Regions from separate parts of the Homo sapiens genome. Here region 1 is linked to region 2. The links are contacts of gene promoters, found by promoter capture Hi-C in blood cells and fetal thymus (Javierre and others, 2016). All regions are on one chromosome and are shown on one strand. Each heading gives the region's core, a stretch centred on a gene start or on the middle of the fragment in contact. The rest is flanking DNA. Distances are from core to core; before and after follow the strand shown.

Region 1 (6,308 bases), core at 762-3,261, 1.9 Mb before region 2:
TCACAACAATAACAAACAACAACAAATGCTTCTGATACTGTACCATGGCAAACTACCTGGTTTTAGTTAGAAATCTATCTCTGAGATGAGTCGCTGCACCCAGGCCTCACTTGCTCTTGGTCTGGGGCGGGCTGTGCAGTTCTGGGATCTGCTCTGGTGATGAGCCTAAGGTGAACCTCAGAGTCAAAATCATGCCTTATGTCTGTCAGACACTTTGAACTGTTTCAAAGCCTCTCCAGGCCTATTATTTCATTTGATCTTCATAACATCCCCCAGACAGGGAGCCCCAGATAGGTTAATTGGCCTGCCTGGGGTCGCAGGTGGGAGCTGGGACTAGAACTGGAGTCTCTCCGGTCTTCCTCTACCCTCACGTCTGGAAGGACTGTGTCATGCCATGTGCTTTGGGGACTCACTGAGACACTTTCTGGTCTTTCTGGCCCCACTGCCACTGCAGCTGGTGTCAGGGAGAGACAGAAAGAAGGTGTGATGGGAATCAGCCCCCACAGCTCTGAGGGAGCTCCAAGGTGAGGGCCCATGGTGGACCCATCAATTCCAGAGGGCCACCTCCAGCTCCCAGCCTTGGCAGGCTTCTGCAGAGCAAATTGCAAGGGCTCCTCGGGCTCGTTCTAGAACCCAGACTGTGCTGTGAAGTCCGTTTCCAGCTGGACTGCCCAGGACCCCTCTCCTCCTCTGTCCCTCTTCTTCTTCTCCTACTGCTGGTGGCTCCCTTCCTTTCCTGAGCATAAACTGCTTTTCCTCCTGGAAATGTTGCAATTTTCCCTTCCTTGTGTTTTTGCTTGAGTGCAGGAGGGTTTGTGTTCAAGGTCTGGGGCTATTGAGGCTGGTGGGAAGTGAGCAAGTTTGAGAAAAGCCGGTGAGGGCAGGAGCCAGCAGCACTGGACCTGGCTGCAGGCAGCATTCCAGTGGGAAAAGTTAGAAAGCGTGAGTGCAAAAATAAAATATGAATATGCGAAATGTTAAAAAAGGGAGAAATTCCCAGGGCCACATTTGCCTAGTATCACACTAATACAGTGAGACAAGTAGGCTGATGGTTCCAAGCCTTCAGAAATGAGCTCTCAACGTTCAGTAGAGCCGAGATCCAGAGAATGATCCCGGCTGTGGGAAGATGGGCTACAGACTGCACCTTCAAGCTCTCCTTCCTGCTGAAATAGGAGCGTGCACGCAGCCACTTCAAAATTCAGACTGTGCATGCAGCAAGGCTGGAAAGGGAAAACGGCTCAAGGACCCGCCACTTGGGGGCAGCAGTTTTGAATATTTCGAATTGCAAGCCACTCTGTGGCTGAGACACCAGCATGCAAAACTTGCATACTAACAATGACAAACAATGTCTCAAATTGTAAACAGCTTAGGGAAGAAATCTTATTTTAATATTAGTCCAAAATTTCCATTTATATTCATATTCAAATTTATCTCCAGAAAATAATCCATATAGTTAAGACTCGAACGAAAGTAATTGATACAGAATAGGAATCACAGTCAGGGTGAAATAACCCTCAGAAAATCACAGTATGTGGCCGATTTTCTGAGTGGATAAAGCTGGGCTTACAGTTTATGCTGGGAGTATTTGAGCTAAATTAAGTCATGAAAGAAGATAATACAATGTACCATCATTTTAAAGTAATTTAATCATGAAAACTAAAAATTTGGAAGAAAACAGATATTTTACTTAATAGAAACCATCTGTACTGTACAGTAGGCAAATTGTATAAAAATGAATAAAACTGTCTCTGGAGGAGAGTGGCTCAGACACCGGCTTATATAATGAAGATGTATATGTGCCTTTTAGCATTTGCATTGTCTATTAGATGAGGTAAATCGCAGGGAGTATAAGGGAAACAGTTACAAATTTTATTACCATCATATGACTGATGACAAAGTGGCAATAGAAATAATGCATAAGAGATGGGGTCTGTTCCCAAGTCCAGTGGCTCTCCACCTTGGACCAGTCTTAATGGCCGAATCTCTATTGAGCGAGGGTCACTAGGATGTTTTTGTCTAGTTACTATGGCTTTAGTGGCTCCTACCCACAAGGACCATCTTTTAACTTGTTTAGGCTCCGAGTGTGCCATTTGATTTGATTTGGCCCCACCAGGGAGGCACCTAATTTAAACACTTCTGGAGTGGCTTTTGCACTGGACTTTTGGCTGGAAAGATGCAGGCAGATGATCTGTAAAATGTCCCCTTTTTCCTGTTGACCTGCATCAAAATGCATTTTTCTGACAGAATACTTTTGTCCCTGGTAAGAGGGGCTGGCTCGTCCCTCTCTGTGTCTGAAGGTCGAGTGCCACATTTTTCAAAACAGACACTTGTTCCTAATCTACAAATTAACTAAATAATCACAACTGCTAATTATACAGTATCAGGCCTGGAATACATAGGGCTTGAGTAATAATCAACTTTTTAAATTAAGTTGGTGACAACCACTATTAGCTGCTGTGATTTAATAATCCCAATAAATGTGCACATTTTAAAAAGGGGCTCTTTGTAATTTTTTTCCCCAGCATTTGCAACTGAATCTGTTAATGAAAAGAGAACACAACAGTTTTATGTTACAAACGATGCCATAATAGGTAAATAAAAGGGCTCCTCTAGACGCTATTAATGATGGATGTGCCGCGAATATGAATTGGAGATGCGAGGCAGAGCGAAATTTGAAATCAAGTTTCTATTTCTGTTTGTTATGATGAATTAAGGCCAGAAAGAGAATCTGATTCCTTTTGTATATTAAGCATTTTTGGGCAATAAGAAACAGATCCCATTAACAAATATGTAAAATAAAAATACCTCCCTTAAGATTTAGACGTTGGCAAATTTAGAACAAAAGAGATGCAATTTTCCACCTCGTATGCTCGCGCTGTTTTACCTAATATTATTATAATGCATTGGCTCCAGCAGCGGACCTGCGCGGCCGGGGAAAAGGGGCGCGCGCCTTGGCGACTGGGGGCGCATCGTGGGGACTCGGCCTCTTTTTCCCATCTTCTGGAGGAACCGCCGACCATAGCAGAGGGGAGCGCGTGGGAAGTCGCCCCGCGGGGCAGCCGCACATCTCAGAGACCTGCGGGGGGCGCGGGGTAGAGGGGAGAGATTGATCCGGGTTGGGGGGGCGGGGGGCCCACGAACGGTGGGGCGCGGGGTCGCTGGCATCTAGGACCGGGGGTCCTGGGAGGCTCCGCCAGGGGGCTGGTGAGGACCCTCACTCTGTGGGGGCCGGCCCTCCTTCTACCTCTTTCACCCTTTTCTCTCTGCCGCTGATTGCACCACTTTTCTTTTCTTTTCTTTTTTTTTTTTTTAGTGGTCAATTGAAATTTTATGGCTAAGTTATTTAAAAGAGACTATAGAAGAACGAAATGAGGGAAGGATGATGGAAACACCGCCTTTCTTTTACAATAATTACTCTTGATAGCAATTTGAACTAATTTGCATTAAAAAAACACCCATTTAACCAATCTGCTGCAAATGGGGACTTACTGTATACTGTTTTGTTAGACCTCAGGACTCCATTGTAGCATTTAAATTATGGAAGGACTACAGGACCCCATGAATACCCACGTCTGCTTCAGCCCAGGTTGGGCTTGTTTTCAATACCTGAGCAATGATATGATATGGAATTTCATGACAAAATGGGCTCATTTCTCATAATTGTACCTTTTATGTGTACTTTATAAGACAGGAGATGAGGGCAGAGACTGGAGCCAGGATTCCTGGCTATTCTCTTCTCAGCATGACCTTAGACAAAAATCCCTTCATATCCCTGGGTTCTCATGGAAGCAAGAAAGTTAGGAATCAAATACAAGGCCTTTGCCCTCCAAGACCTTAGAAATAGATGTGCATATGCGAGTGGATATTATTATTATTTAGGCTTTTGATAAACAATGATAAACTTCGTGGGGGTACGGCCTTTCCATCTATTGCCTGTAACTGATCAATATGCCCTTATTCCACCCCCAAAACTTTGGGGTGAGCTGGGGTGTGGATGGTTTTGTGTGTCAGTAAAGTGACCACAGCCAGCCGGATGGAGACAGCTGCCCTCTCCCTCTCTCTCTCTGCAGTATTTGGTTTCCCTGTACCATAACTGATGTTTTCCTTACATTTTTATTTCAAAAGAGAGATGAAGATCCTCATCTGGTTACAAAACCATTTGGACCCTCAGTCCTTCTCCTTTGGTTTCTTCTTTTCTGCTTTTTTTTTTTTTCCTACTTGAAAACATTGTAATCTAGAATTCAGAGAGGAAAAAAGTTGAAATTCAAAGCAGGCATTTTTTTTTTTTTTTTTGTCTGAGACGGAGTCTCACTCTGTCGCCCAGGCTGGAATGCAGTGGCACGAACTCGGCTCACTGCAAGCTCTGCTTCCTGGGTTCATGCCATTCTCCTGCCTCAGCCTCCCAAGTAGCTGGGACTACAGGCGCCCACCACCACGCCAGGCTAATTTTTTGTATGTTTAGTAGAGACGGGATTTCACCGTGTTAGCCATGATGGTTTCAATCTCCTGACCTCGTGATCCGCCCACCTCGGCCTCCCAAAGTGCTGGGATTACAGACGTGAGCCACCGCGCCCGGCCCAAAGCAGGCATTTTTGTGAGCCTAGCAGCGAGGTCTGGAGGCTTGGTGTGCTGGAGGGTGAAAGCAGCGTCAGGAGGTCACCGGGGTGGAATCTGATGACCCCCCAAGTTTCTCATTTTACCGATAGGGAAACTGAGGCTCTGAGGGGACCCGTTCACCCAAACAAGCCAGGTGGAGACTTGGGGTACTTTTCAGTGTTTTCCTTTATCTGTGTCAGTCCCCAGAGGGACCACATTTTCTGTACCCACAGAACATTCTGAATGAAAGCCAAGTGCAGACGATGTTTTCATTTCCCTCGTTTTGTTCTTTCCCCTTCTCTTCCCTTTCTTTCTTTTCCTCCCTCTTTCCTTTCTTTCCTCCCTCCCTTCCTCCTCCTTCCTTTCCTCTCTCCTTCCTTCTCTTCCTTCTTTCTCTCATTCACTCACTGCCTCTTGTTTTCTTTACCACAGTGCAGACCTTCTGGAGTCCAAGGTGGGGGGTTGGGGGTGGGGTCGGTGGTGGGGAGCAAGGAACAGGCCACCCCTGCTGCAGACCCGCCGGGTGGACACAAAGCAAAGCCACCCAGGAGGGGGTGGTGGGGACAGTCTTGCATGCCCCACCTCAAGCCGGAGAACATTCTGGCTGCAGGGGACCCTGCAGAGGCCACGAAGCCTCACTGAGTGAGAGAAAGAAAGAAGGAAAGAAAGGAGGGAAGGCAGCTCCCTCTGCTCAGCCGCTGGGAAACTGGTGTCCCGCGGTTGCTCCTGTCATGCACAAGATGGCGCTCTTAAGCTTTAAAAAGAGTCGGGGGCTCAGTGCAGTGAATGCGCCGCTCCACCCCGAGGGTTCCTCCTGGAGAGGCTGCAGAGCAGGCGGGAAGAGGCAGGAAAGTGAGGGCCTTCTTTCCTGGTGCCCTCAGCGTGATGGAGGGAGTCCAGCCTTGCTCTCCCCCTGGGCAATCAGGACTCCCAGAGACCCCGCTGCCCTTCTGAGCTGCTGCTTTCCAACTTAGGAATTGCCCGTGGGGTCCTCACGGAGTCCCCCGTGCAGCTGGACTCTCGAGCTTTGTTTCCTGAACAGGGAAGAAGGAAGCAGGTGGGGCACAGAGCGGCTCTGACCTGCCAGACACCACCGGACCGCTCAGGCAAAGGGGCTGCGTCCTGCTGTGCGGCCCCGGTCTGAGGGAGGGTCCTGCATTTGCTTACCTGATGCTGGTTCAGAGCTGTGCTAGCGAAGGGGAGGGCATAGAGAGGCCTCTGGGAGTCTGGAAAGATCCCTGGTCCTCTCCAGTGGGCTAGGACACTGAGCACATCTGCGCCCTTTCCTTGGAGGCCTTACCAGGACCAAATGCAGGCAGGAGAGAGTGGCCTCTTGCATGTGGTCACCCCAGACATGATTAGCCACCTGTCTGCCTGTGAACCTCTGAGGGAGGGGACCCGCCAGGGCCAGAGCCAGGTGCGCTGGAAAGCAGTGGGGTCAGGTCAGCCCCTTGTGACAAATCATCCATCTTGTGACTCAAGATTCAAAGTGAAGGGATTTCTGATGACCTGGAGGACCTGGGGGGATTAGGAACCCAGGAACCCAGGCCATGGAGGCAAGGGGGATGGGTCAGAGTGCCCGGTGTCCACTGCTCAGCAGGACCTCAGTTCAGCTTCTGTTAAAGAAGGTGGAGGACCAACTCATGTTTCAAATCGTGGGTCCCACAATGAAAGTGAACAGGTAAGAAAATGTGAGAATTCATAGCATGTAG
Region 2 (6,256 bases), core at 2,824-5,323:
CCATTTTGTCCAATCGTATTTCTACATAACTGTCCATACTTCGTTGAACCTAAGCATACAAATGGACAGTTTTCCCTGTATCTTTGAGTCTTCACGTGTCACGTGAAACTGTGATCAAATAAATTTGTTTATCTTTTCTCCTATTAATCTGCCTTTTGTCAGTGATTTTCAGCAAACCATCAGAGGGCTAAGGAGAAGCTTTCCTGTGGCCCCTACAATAATAAACTACAAAAAGGGCAGAAATGGAAGTGTTATCCAGGAGTTTTCATAGCATTTTTTTTAGAGTCTGCTCTGCAACTGGTTTGTGCCACTTTCAGCAAATTCCATTTAAAAGAAAAATCAGCGGGCCGGGGGCGGTGGCTCACGCCTGTAATCCCAGCACTTTGGGAGGCCGAGGTGGGCGGATCACGAGGTCGGGAGATCGAGACCATCCTGGCTAACACGGTGAAACCCCATCTCTACTAAAAATACAAAAAATTAGCCGGGCGTGGTGGCAGGCGCCTCTATTCCTAGCTACTCGGGAGGCTGAGGTAGGAGAATGGCATGAACCCGGGAGGCGGAGCTTGCAGTGAGCTCAGATCGCGCTACTGCACTCCAGTCTGGGTGACAGGGCAAGACTCCGTCTCAAAAAATAAAAAATAAAAGAAAAATCAGCATTTATAAAACAGCCACATTTGAGGGGTGATTACTGCTTTTTTTTTTGAAAAGGATTCACTATAGCACATTTCCCCTGTGCAATACAATTTCATTATTTTTTAAATGTCAAAAGCAGTCTATGCTATTAGAAAACAAGCAAATGACACAAAGAAGTGTGTAAGTCAAAGTGAAGGGCCTCCCTTTAGCTCTCCTCTGTTTCTGCCCTCTGGAGGCAAGCTCTGATAATAATTTGGGGAGCATCCTTCTGGAGACCCTTTTCTATGAGCCATTCACTGATATAGTTATATGTTTTATTTACATTCAATTCTACTTAAAAATGATAATCACAGGCCGGGCACAGTGGCTCACACCTGCAATCCCAGCACTTTGGGAAGCCGAGGCGGGCGGATCACCTGAGGTCAGGAGTTCGAGACCAGCCTGACCAACATGGAGAAACTCCGTCTCTACTAAAAATACAAAATTAGGCGGGCGTGGTGGCACACACCTGTAATCCCAGCTACTTGGGAGGCTGAGGCAGGAGAATCGCTTGAACCCGGGAGGTGGAGGTTGCGGTGAGCCGACATCACGCCATTGCACTCCAGCCTGGCCAACAGGAGCAAAACTCCATCTCAAAGAAAAGAAAAGAAAAAAAGTGATAACCAGAATGTGTATCTTGTTTTATGACATGGTATCTTTTTCTTTTTTTTTGACATGGTGTCTTTTTTCCCTCCTATTGCATTCTTTTCATAGTAAACTTTAAAGTCTTATTTACATGGTTTTTAACTAAACTTTTTAGTTTAAAACAACTGTAGATTCACATGCAGTTGTGAGAAATAATACAGATCCTGTGTACACTTTCTTCCGATGACAACACCTTGCAAAACTGTAATACTGCAACCAGGATGTTGATATTTATAAACAATCGACTGATCTTTTTCAGATTTTCCCAGTTTTACTTGTACTCGTGCGCGCGTGCATGCGTGTGTGTGTGTGTGTGCGTTGTTTTTGTTTTTGAGACAGGGTCTTGCTCTGTCGCCCAGGTTAGTGGGCAGTAGCAGTGGCAGGATCATGGCTCACTGCAGCCTCCAACTCCCAGGCTCAAGTGATCTTCTCACCTCAGCCTCTCACCTACCTGGGCCCACAAGTGTGAGCCACCATGCCTGACTCATATATATATATATATTTTTGTAGAGACCGGGTCTTCCTATGTTGCCCGGCTGGTCTCCAACTCCTCGGCTCAAGTGATCCTCCTGTCTGGGGTTTCCAAATTGTTGGGATTACAGGTGTGAGTCAGAGCACCCAGCCAAGTTCTATACAATTTTATCATGTTTAGTTTGTGTTCTCACCACCACAGGCAAGATACAAAATGGTTCCTCATCACTCTCCTGTTGCATTTTAAATAACACAATTTACCGTGTTCAATACCATGTATTTCTCCAGGTGAGGTATACATGTGACAGGCTCCAAAAGGCTTTTAAACACCACAGTAGTGCTGCCCAAGAAAATTCAAGGGCCACGAATGAAAGTTGCCTATGAAATTAGACATTTCTCAGGAGCCAAAGGTAAAAGAGACCAATTTAAATAATATATTTCAGAAAACCGAATATATCCAAATATCCTCATTTCAACATGTAATCAATATAAAAAGTATGAATGATATGCTACTTTTCTCGTACGAAGTCTTTGCAATCCAGTGAGCCCAGTCCTCTGGCAGCTGTTAGCATGGACTGAGTACCTCCTATGTGTCTGACTCTGATCCAGGCACTGAGACACAGATCAGCTCCTGCCCTTTAAGAACACAGGCCAATGGAGGACAAGCACAGTTCTACAACATGAGACAGGCCACGGTAGAAGCAAGCAAAGGAGGCCTGGGAACACCTGGCTAGTAGGGAAGGCTCTGTGGGGGCTTGGCCTCAAAGCCCAGGGACAGCAGGGGGACCAGTCAGAAGGAGCCCCAAGTGTCTGGGTGGGAGCGATGGTGTTCCCTGAGATGGGAACCAAGAGGAGAGGCACTTTGGAGGGAAGGCCCAGTGTGGTTTGGGGATATCCAATAAAAGATGGCCCCTCCTCAAAGTTAGTGGATGCTAGGCTCTGGGATGCAGGGGAGGGTTCTGGGCTTGCTATTGAGGTTTCCCTGGAGGTTGATGTCACTGGGGGCATGGAGATTACTCAGGCCAGAAGGTGTGTGGGAAGCATGGGGTGTGGGGTACAGAGTACACCACATGGAGAGCCAACATCAGGGGGATTCCCAAGGGAGAAAGACAAGCCAGGGATCATCCAAGGAGGCAAGACGGGAGGAGTGCAGGGATCTGTGGACCCACCCAGCCCCTTCTGTTCTGAGGTTACAATGGGTGATGGCTCTGTGGGGCTGCAATGAGTGGCGGCACGCGCGGAGGGCCAGGGGAGGAGGGACATGCTGTGGGCTCCGGGTTCAGGTCCCAGGACTGAATTGGAAGCACCCTGTCTGTGTTGAAGTTCAAGATCTACCACTTCTGTTCCCAGACCTCCCAGTTCTTCCTCACCTTTATGCAATTTCATTTTTGATAATTTCAGCTTCCTAAATGTACACATCTGACTTCACTTTCACTCACATGTCTCACCCCCACCCCTCCACCGGCCCCTTCTATTACAGACCCAGGAGACACAGGAAGTGCAAGGAAGGTCTGGAGCCCCAAAAGCCAGGAGCCTCAGGAGTCAGGTGTCCTGACAGCCAGGAACCCTGACACCCAGGAGCCCTGGCACCCAGGAACCCCAACAGCCAGAAGCCTCTACCACCAGGAGCCCTGACAGCAAGGAACCCCGACACCCAGGAGCCCCTACTACAGCCAGGAAGCCAGGAACCCTAACACCAGGAGCCCTGACACCCAGTCACCCCGACAGCCAGGAAGCCAACAGCAAGAAGCCTCTACCACCAGGAGCCCTGACAGCAAGGAACCCCGACACCCAGGAGCCCCTGCTATAGCCAGGAACCCTAACACCCAGGAGCCCCTACAGTCAGGAACCCCGACACCCAGGGGTCCCGACAGCCAGGAACCCCGACACCCAGGGGTCCCGACAGCCAGGGGCCATTACGGCCAGGAGCCCCGACAGCCAGGGACCTCGACGGCCAGAATCCACTACATCCAGAAGCCCTTATAACCGGGAACCTCCATAGCCAGGAGCCCCTACAGCCAGGAGCCCCTTCAGCCAGGGAGCCCCGAAAGCCAGGAGCCCCGACAGCCAGGAACCATAACAGCCATGAACCCCGGGAGCCAGGAGGCCCGCAGCGGAGTGCCCAGACTTGGCAGGGTCAGAGCCCCCCAGCGGGATCCAGAGCCCGCCGCCGAGGCCCCTTTTGGGATTTCTCAGGCTCGGCAGCCTCAGCGCAGGCAGGGGCGGGGCTTTCCCTCGCGCAGCCGCTCAGCTCCCCGTGGCCCCGCCCACATCCGGCCGCCGGCACTGGATTGCTTCTGTCTGGCGGCGGCAGCATGGCGGCGGGGGCGGCTGAGGCAGCTGTAGCGGCCGTGGAGGAGGTCGGCTCAGCCGGGCAGTTTGAGGAGCTGCTGCGCCTCAAAGCCAAGTAAGCGGGGCGGCGAGCGGTAGGAGTGAGGAGCCGGAGCGGGAGCGGCCGCGAGACCGGGCCGGTGTGGGGCGGCGGGTGGCCCAGCCTGGCTTCTTGGTGCCCGGCTCCCTTCGGCCTCGGGGGACCGGGCCCGGCGCCACCCGTAGACTCCCCCGAGCCTCCGCGTGAGTGGCCCGAGCCGCAGGTTCCCCGCCCCGGAACAGCGAGCAGGGCGCGAGGCTCGCCTGGAAGCCCCGGCCCCAGCCCTGGCTCCGACCCCGACGGCTGTCCAAGCCCGGGGGACGCGACCTTCCCGGCCTCTGGCCTGGGCGGCCCCGCCGCGGGACGGAGGCGGTGGTGACTCAGCCGTGCCGCAGTGGCGGGGCGGGGGACGGGGCGGCGCCGAGACCCCGGCCCTCCGCGCCACGGAGCGGGACCCACGGCTGCGGGCTCCACCTTTCCTGTGCCCGCCGGGAGGGAGCGGCAGGCTCGGCGTCGGCCCATTGCTCTTCAGCCTCCCTTCAGGAACGCCCCTGTCGCAGGAAGAGCGGCGAGGGAAGGCCCCGTTGCATTAGCTAGGCCTGGCTGCCTTTTGAAGTCAGCCTTTAAAGTTTGTTGGACAGCAGGTAGCCTCAGTCTTCAGACTTAACCTGTTGCCGGAGACAGAGATTTCCTGTTCCATGAACTGGTGTAGTGAGAGTCTGTTCAGATTTGGCGCCGGTGTCCAGGTCTTCAATCCCTGGGAAGACTACAAAAGGAGATCCAGAGGAATGCATAGAAAGCGTTTTCTGGGTGGACTAGAAGCTCTGAACTGCAAGCATGCTTACGAGTAAATGCTTACTAGCGTGCGTGCCTGCAGGGAAAGGTCTGCACGTGGACTCTCCGTGATAATACCACCTCACATTGTAGACTACTCCAAGGACTGAGTTGTTCTCTTAGTTGTATTATTAGCGGTTGTTATGGGAACTCTTATGTCGGATTGCCTGGGATCCAGTCCCACCGCAGCCACTCAGTAGCCATGTAACCCCTGGGCACGTTTCATGCCCAAGCCTCAGTTTCCCGACGGTGACATAGATTAGCACCTGTTAGTACCTCAGGGTTGTTGTGAGGGTTAAATGAGATGACGTATGTAAAATACAAATAATACAATGCCTAGTATGCAGGAAGCACTCAGTAGATGTTGGCACTTAGTATTTCAGTAGGAAGTAGAATGGTTCATGGAATTCACAGGCAAAAAGCTTTGTTTTGTTTTGTTTTTGAGACAGGGTCTGGCTCTGTCACCCAGGCTGCAGTGTAGTGGAGCGATCACGGCTCCCTGCAGCCTCCGCCTCCCAGGCTCAAGTGATCGACCCACCTCATCCTCCCGAGTAGCTGGGACCACAGGTGCTCACCACCACGCCCGTCTAATTTTTATTTTTTTTTATAGAGACGAGGTCTCGCCATGTTGCCCAGCCTCGTCTCGACCTTCTGGACTCGAGCGATCTGCCCTCCTCAGCCTCCCAAAGGGTTGGGATTACAGGTGTGAGCTACCACGTCCGGCCAGAAATGCTTATTGATCTAAATTTTGTTTTGTTTGTTTTCGAGACAGGCTGTTGCTCTGTTGCCCAGGCTGAGTGCAGTGGCGTGATCTCGGCTCACTGCAGCCTCTACCTCCTGGGTTCAAGCGATCCTCCCACCTCAGCCTCCTGAGTATCTGGGACTACACGTGCGGTCCACCACGCTGGGCTAATTTGTGTATTTTTCGTAGAGGCAGGGTTTCCTCATGTTGCCCAGGCTGGTCTCTGGAACTCCTGAGCTCAAGTGATTCGCCTGCCTCGGCCTTGTAAAGTATCGGGATTACAGGCTTGAGCCCCCGTGACCTGCCCTGTTGATCTAAATTGAGTGAAATTTTGCCGACTGAATTTGAATTAGAGGCAAGTAGTACTCTGATTTTGCAATGGAGAGTGCAGGTGAGATGGGGTGTTGCCTTTGGAAATGGGGAGGGGTGCGAGTTACTGACTAATGGTTAGAAATGCTTTATGGGGGTGATGAAATTAAAGTGTTATTTAAACAGCTCTTTAGGCATTTCAGGTTTACCTG

Evidence for each region. The method cuts DNA at HindIII sites, captures the fragments that hold promoters and counts their contacts. A CHiCAGO score of 5 or more calls a contact.
Region 1: a contact is called between a fragment that was not itself captured here and the fragment with the promoter of GLRX3 in region 2, in 1 of 17 cell types (naive B cells). The highest score is 7.4, in naive B cells.

What each region holds. Positions count from the first base shown.
Region 1 is chr10:128,262,841-128,269,148 of GRCh38, forward strand. No RefSeq gene overlaps it. Among named protein-coding and RNA genes, the nearest start is that of LINC01163, 20 kb to the right of the region's middle. The HindIII fragment of the contact is 6,673 bases long and covers 1-5,348 here.
Region 2 is chr10:130,132,318-130,138,573 of GRCh38, forward strand. GLRX3 (glutaredoxin 3) reads left to right here and starts at 4,074. Exons shown (of 11, transcript NM_006541.5): 1 at 4,074-4,195. The coding sequence starts at 4,104. LOC105378561 (a long non-coding RNA gene) reads right to left here and starts at 4,054. Exons shown (of 6, transcript XR_001747659.2): 1 at 1,142-4,054. RefSeq lists a silencer at 4,056-4,655 and enhancers at 4,856-4,905, 5,184-5,819, 5,820-6,256. The HindIII fragment of the contact is 5,217 bases long and covers 197-5,413 here.